2 separate regions of the Homo sapiens genome follow, and region 2 is linked to region 1. The links are contacts of gene promoters, found by promoter capture Hi-C in blood cells and fetal thymus (Javierre and others, 2016). All regions are on one chromosome and are shown on one strand. Each heading gives the region's core, a stretch centred on a gene start or on the middle of the fragment in contact. The rest is flanking DNA. Distances are from core to core; before and after follow the strand shown. Region 1 holds the start of TRMT13 (tRNA methyltransferase 13). Region 2 has its middle 37 kb from the start of EXTL2.

The links. Contacts are between HindIII fragments. The CHiCAGO score rates a contact against its expected background, and 5 or more counts as called.
Region 2: a fragment that was not itself captured here is called in contact with the fragment with the promoter of TRMT13 in region 1 in 2 of 17 cell types (monocytes and naive CD8 T cells); the score reaches 5.6 in monocytes.

What each region holds. Positions count from the first base shown.
Region 1 is chr1:100,131,581-100,135,056 of GRCh38, reverse strand. It overlaps TRMT13 (tRNA methyltransferase 13), which reads right to left and starts at 1,894. Exons shown (of 11, transcript NM_019083.3): 1 at 1,742-1,894. The coding sequence starts at 1,888. It overlaps SASS6 (SAS-6 centriolar assembly protein), which reads left to right and starts at 2,127. Exons shown (of 17, transcript NM_194292.3): 1 at 2,127-2,307. The coding sequence starts at 2,243. RefSeq lists silencers at 1-204, 2,342-2,505 and enhancers at 1,680-2,209, 2,220-2,339, 1,744-2,346. The HindIII fragment of the contact is 8,975 bases long and covers 1-1,947 here.
Region 2 is chr1:100,856,192-100,859,696 of GRCh38, reverse strand. No RefSeq gene overlaps it. Among named protein-coding and RNA genes, the nearest start is that of EXTL2, 37 kb to the left of the region's middle. The HindIII fragment of the contact is 6,930 bases long and covers 1-3,505 here.

The DNA.
Region 1 (3,476 bases), core at 645-3,144:
TGTCTTCATTTTGCCAAGTGTTCACTGGAGGCAAAATCAGTCCCAGTCGAGAACCACTGGGTAAAAATGAGTGGTGTCATCACAGCTATATATGACACTTAGAAAAAAAGATGGAAACACAACATCCAGTTACATCATAAATTACAGATTCAGGAGGATAGCCACAATTTAAAACGAGATAGTAGTCAATAAAAGTGTTTCCACTTGATGTTTTGCGGTCTCTCTTCAAGTGTCTAATGACAATATGTCGTTCCTCTATAGGAATACTAATCAGCTTGTAAGGATTTATTCATATTCTACTATCATCACTATTTGTTTTCACCTTCCATATATCTGGATAAGGTGGAGTCTAAATCCTTCTCCTATCATAACTCTCATTCTTCAACAAGGGATGTTTGCCAGTCCCCTCAAAACCAGTCAATAGACTATGGGCATAATTCAGAGTTCCCACAACAAATCACGTCTCCCATATTCCAAAACAAGAATGTCCTTGTTTCAGTATGCTTCACTTTTGGTAAATGCCAGTCAAAACAAAATAGGAAGTAGACTACAACTATGATGGAGAGTGGCAGATGAAGGGGGTCAGGGGACTGATCTGCACTGGATATTGTCTAGAAGAATAAATTCCTTAAGAAATAAAATAATGCAAATAATACTGAACATTCAGAAGCATGAAATCTGATGCTGATCGCTTTGGTTTATTCTTTATAGTTCTGTGGAACTATAAGGACATGCTCTCTTCCTATGAGCATTTTGCTCCTCTGGTTTTTATTTTCCCATCTCATATATATCCTAAAGTAATATACATATATACAAATATAAAGTGTTTGATAGTACATTTATATGCATAATTATCAAACAAAATTGTATGCTTTGTTCTCAATTGTAAAAGGTCAATTCGTATATATTTAAAAATCTTTCCTTCCCATTCCAGCAAAGTTGCATTCTTAAAAACTGTAAGTCGAAAAAAATTTTTTTTTCTTTTTTGAGATTCAGTCTGGCTGTCACCCAGGCTGGAATGCAGTGGTGTGATCTTGGATTATTGCCACCTCCACCTCCTGGGTTCAAGCGATTCTCCTGCCTCAGCCTCCCGAGTAGCTGGGGTTACAGGCTCGCACCACCACGATTTTCTTAATTTTAGTAGCTCGCGCCACGGCTGATTTTCTTATTTTTAGTAGAGAGAGGGTTTCATCATGTTGGCCAGGCTGGTCTCGAGCTCCTGACCTCAAGTGATCCGCCCGCCTCGGCCTCCCAAAGTGCTGGGATTACAGGCGTGAGCCACCGCGCCGGGCCTCAAGTCTAAATTTTTAAAAGAAAGTTTCTTCCAACCGCATTCACGAGAAGTGCTTCTCTTTCATGAAATAACAATTAGAACACAACTAGTGAAACCTTTGGGACTTCAATCACTACTTTTTCTAAACTACCACTTTCCAGCAGGAAGACGGAGCGGTAGCTTGGGGTAAAAATTAAAACCTAGCATTACCATGAGTTAAGATCGAGATAAATAGATCAAAATAAATGGGTCACTGCTGGCGCTTTACTTAGAAAAATAAAAAATTTCTCATCACTAGAACTCATAATCGCTCCGCAAGGAGGGCAAAACTGGGTTTATTAAAGTGAAAGCTGGAGAATCCAGGGGACACAAGCAGAAAGCTGTCAAAGAGGGGAGGGGCCGGGTTCCAGCACCGACAGGACCAGGATACTTATTTCCGACTCTTGAGAGAGTAGGGCGATACCACACCTCCGCGGCTCCAGCGTGTTCACCACAAAATCTTTTCCCTGCGGCCACCACCATCCTGCAGAACCGTTTCTTCTTTTCCACATAGTAACCGCATCTACCCTCAGCTGGAAAACCAGGCGCGTGCGGCGACGTCGCGGAGGTCGCCATAATTCTAGGGCTCGCTTCCGGTGTCCAGCATCCGGCAACCAGAAGAAAAGTTAGAAGCTTCCTTCGGGTCTCCTTCCCTTAACAAACATGGCTGCCTCAGCCCCCGCGCCACACAGGTTAATACCCGGAACTACCACAACCGTCTTCCCTTTATCCTCCGCAGAACCGGAAGAATCCGATGGTGGCTGGCGAGGGCCAAGTCTCTTACGCCTTCCCCTCGTTTCTCCCTCCCCGCCTCCTCCGCAGAAGCCGAGCGCCAAACTCAAACTTTATCAGGACCCGGACCTCTCAGGCTAATCCCGAGGGCCGGGCCTGTTGGGCTTTTCTGCACACCAGCCGAGGCAGCGAGCCAACATGAGCCAAGTGCTGTTCCACCAACTAGTCCCGTTGCAGGTGAAATGCAAAGACTGTGAGGAGAGGTAAGGTCCGCGTCATCCAGTGCCCGCGGGTGGCGGTTGGGGTCAGGCCAATGGGGAAAGATGGCGGTTCTGGCCCGTGGGATCCACCTTGCACCTAGGTGTCGAGTCGGCCCCCCTAGGAAGCGGATAGGGAACCCAGAGGGCCCGGTGGTTACCTCTCTCACCAAGTCGGCCGTTGCAGAGGGGACTGGAGGAAGGGTGTGAGGAGTTAGGAAGCCGGCTCACATCAAGTTAATGTCAAAAACCCTACCTGTGCACGGAATCGTGAAGATTATAGCCCTACTCTTCCCTTTTGACAGATAAGAACTCTGGCCCAGAGAAGTTAAAAAAATTTACGTGAGGGCTCACAGCCAGTTCATGGCAGGGTCAGGACTAGAACTCAGGCCTTGGCTCCGAGCCTTTCCCCCTCGTTCTCTTTTGAAGTATGTTGGCAGTAAAGTTCAACTTTTAAAAACCTACCAATTTGGTGGCGTACTTTGGCTCTTCACATCAGTTGCTTTAAAAAAGTAAATTACATTTAACCGACTAAAAATGAGAAAAGCAGAAACGTCATTAATTCATTCAATAAATATTGCCTCCTTGTAAAACACCTTACTGGGCACTGGGAATACAGTGGTCAGGAAAAACAGTCCTTTTCTTCATGGAGTTTACAATCACTGGAGGAAATAAAGACCAGTCGCACAGAGAAGTGCAACTTTGATTAAGGAGGTGGTATTATTGGGGCGTAAATAGATTTGACCAGAGGTCAGGAGACTTACTTTTTTTTTCTCAGTTCTAACACTCAATGGTTGTCTCTTTTTTTCTCTGAACGTTCTTTCCTCATTTGTAAAACTGATATAACATGCGTATTCACGTGTTTGTAATGAGGATCAGGTGTGAAATCTTTTGCGTATTCACGTGTTTGTAATGAGGATCAGGTGTGAAATCGTATGTGAAAACTAAGTGGTGTACAAATGTAACATAAAAAATGAAGACATTGCCTTATTGAGTTGCCAGTAATGTCAAACTGTAGTATATATAGTTCAGAATTCGGTCAAAAATCAATGGCAAGCCGGTCAAGGAGATGGTCCCAAAACCAGCAGCTGCATATGGAGATCTGTAGGTTTAGTTGATCATTCTTTTAATGCTGTCCAGTATGGTAGCCACTAGCCACATGTGGTTATTAGACA
Region 2 (3,505 bases), core at 766-3,265, 720 kb before region 1:
AGCAATGTATATAATTTAACCATGTATTTTCTCACCTTATTTGTCATGATGAAAAATATATTGACTAGGATGGGGTACCCTACTTGACACTGGATGTGTTGAGATCTCTCTTTTTCATGCATTAGGTTAAGCTCCTATGAATCTGGGTCTTCGTTTCTAGGAAAGAGGTTAAATAATCTTTTAGCATTCCACAAGCACTTATTAAGCACCTACTTCCTAGCACTGTGTTAGGTGCTCAAGATACAGAGAAGGACAAGAAGTGGCCAGTGTTCTCAAGGAATGGAAGGAAACAAGCACTCAAGTGTTACACAGAGTAAAATAGTTCCATCTGAAAGGTAGAATGGAGCAAAAGGAGAAAATACATGGCCTACAGAATAATTTGGCCATTCTCTTCTAAGATGATGTTGCCTACCCTCTCTCACTGTGAACTTTCATGTCCAACAGGATTTTCAGAGAGGCTATCAGCTGATAGCATCTGCCACCAGGGAATCAGGATCAGGAGTCAGATGAACTTGGGTTCAAAATCCATAGCTATCACTTACTAGGATGTGACCTTGGCAAGTTCTGTAACTTCACTAAGCCCAACATTCTTCATCCTCAAAGTACAGCTTACTGCAAGGGAGGCAGTATTGTATATTGGTTAAGAGGTAAAGCTCTGCAGCCAGACTGCCTGAGTTTAGCCAGGTGACCTTGGACAAGTGATTTAGTCTCTCTATTCCTCAGTTTCCTCATTTATAAAATGGGGACAATAGTTTTATCTATTTCATTGGTTTGGGCATGGATTAAGTGATGAAAGTGCATAAAATAGTGCCTGGCACGTTGTAACTAGTCAATAAATGCCAACTATTCCTATTGCTGTTATTATTGTTTGTTATTGTTATAGCTTTCTCATTGAGCTGTTGAAAATTAAAATAAAATGTTTGAAAAGTAGCTAGCACAGTGTCTAACACCTAGTAATCGCTTACTAAAGGCAGCAAATGAAACTAAATGAATCTAGCATTCTTGAGTTTCTCTCACCAAACTCCTGACCCTGGCCTTAATAGAGGGCACTTCTAAGAAGATAAGATGGACATATTACAATTCTTCTCATGGCTCTCCAATGGCTTTTTGTTTCACTCAAAAGCCAAAGTTCTTAGGGTGACCTACATGTCCCTAAGTGATCTGGTCTCATCTTCTCTCCTGACCCCATGACCTGCCACTGTGTGCCTCACTTATCTTCCTCTGCCACATCAGCTCTGGACTGTTCTTTAAACATTTCAGGCATACACCTTTCTCCAGTCTTGGCTGTTCTCTCTGCCTGGAATGCGTATCTTCCCTCAGATTACATATCAAAGCATAAAGGACTTAGCAAAAGCAGTTTTTAGAGAAAAATAGCCTTAAATGTTTGTGTTAAGAAAGAATGAGTAAGTTGTGCATGCAACTTCAAAAGTCTGCAAAAGGGCCGGGCGCGGTGGCTTACGCCTGTAATCCCAGCACTTTGGGAGGCTGAGGCGGGTGGACCACAAGGTCAGGAGATCAAGACCATCCTGGCTAACACAGTGAAACCCCATCTGTACTAAAAGTACAAAAAATTAGCCGGGCGTGGTGGTGGGTGCCTGTAGTCCCAGCGACTCAGGAGGCTGAGGCAGGAGAATGGTATGAACCTGGGAGGTGGAGCTTGCAGTGAGCCAAGATCACACCACTGCACTCCAACCTAGGCAACAGAGCGAGACTTCATCTCAAAAAAAAAAAAAAGGAACAAGACAAAATAAATTGTAAGGAAGAATATGATAAAGTTAAGAGCAAAATTCATGGTCTCAAAAACAGAAGTACAATAAATAGAATCTATAATGTTAAAAGTTGGTTCTTTGAAAAGACTTAAAATAGACAGAACAGGTTGGGTTCAGTGGCTCACACCTATAATCCAGCCCTTTGGGAGTCCAAGTCAGGAGGATTGATTGAGCCCAGGAGTTCAAGACCAGTCTGGGCAACATAGTGAGACCCCGTCTTTACCAAAAATAAAAAAAATTAGCCAGACATGGTGGGGTGTGCCTGTAGTCCCAGCTACTAAGGAGGCTGAGGTGGAAGGATGACTTGAGCCCAGGAAGTCAAGGCTACAGTAGGCCTTGATTCTGCCACTGCACTCCAGCTTGGGTGACAGAGTGAGACCCTATCTCAATAGTAATAATAATAATAATAAGATAGTCACAACTAACTCAGTTGAAACTATTCCAAAAAAGTGAGGAAGGACTCCTCTATAATTCATTCTACAAACCAGCATCAATCTGATACCAAAACCTGGCAAAGAAACAACAAAAAAAGAAAACTACAAGCCAATATCCCTGATGAACATAGATGCAAATATCCTCAGCAAAATACTAGCAAACCAATCCAACAGCTCGTTAAATAGTTAATTCACCATGATCAAGTAGGCTTCATTCCTGAGATACAAGGTTGCTTCAACAAATGCAAATCAATCAATGTGATTCACCACATAAACAGAATTAAATCCAACCATATGATCATCTCAATAGACATGGAAAAAACTTTTGATAAAATCCAACATTTCTTCATGATGAAAACCTTCAACAAACTAGGCATTGAAGGAATATAACTCAAAATAATAAGAGCCATTTATGACAACCCACAGCCAACATCATACCAAATGGGCAAAAACTGAAAGGATTTCCTTTTAAGAAATGGAATAAGACAAGGATGACCACTCTCGCCCCTCCTGTTCAACACAGTATTGGAATGGACAGCCAGAACAATCAGGCAAAAGAAAGAAACAAAAGGCATATAAGTAGAAAAAGAAAAAGTCAAACTATATCTCTTCAAGGACTATATGATTCTATACCTAGAAAACCCTAAAGACTCCACCAAAAGACTCCTGGAAATAATAAACATTTTCAGTAAAGTTTCAGGATATAAAATCAATGTACAAAAACCAGTAGCATTTCTATACACCAAAAACATTCAAGCTAAGAACCAAATGGAGGATGCAATCCCCAGTTACAATAGTGACAGAAAAAAAATAAAATACCTAGGAATACATTCAACCAAGGAGATAGAAGATCTCTACATCAGAATTACAAAACACTGCTAGAAGAAATCATACATGACACAAATGGAAAAACATTTCATGCTTATGGATTGGAAGAATCAATATCATTAAAATGGACATACTACCCAAAGCAATTTACAGATTCAATGCTATTCCTATCAAACTGCAAACATTATTTTTCACAGAACTAGAAAAAACTATTCTAAAATTCCTGTGGAACCAAAAAAGAGCCTAAATAGCCAAAGCAATCCTAAGCAAAAAGAACAAAGTGGAAGGCATCACATTACCTGACTTCAAACTATACCATAAGGCTATAGTAACCAAAACAGCACGGTACTGGTACAAAAATAGACACATAGACCAAGGAAACAGAGCAGAGAACGCAGAAATAAAGCTGCACACCTACAGCCATTTGATCTTTGACAAAGTTGGCAGAAATAAGCAATGGGGAAAGGACTCCTT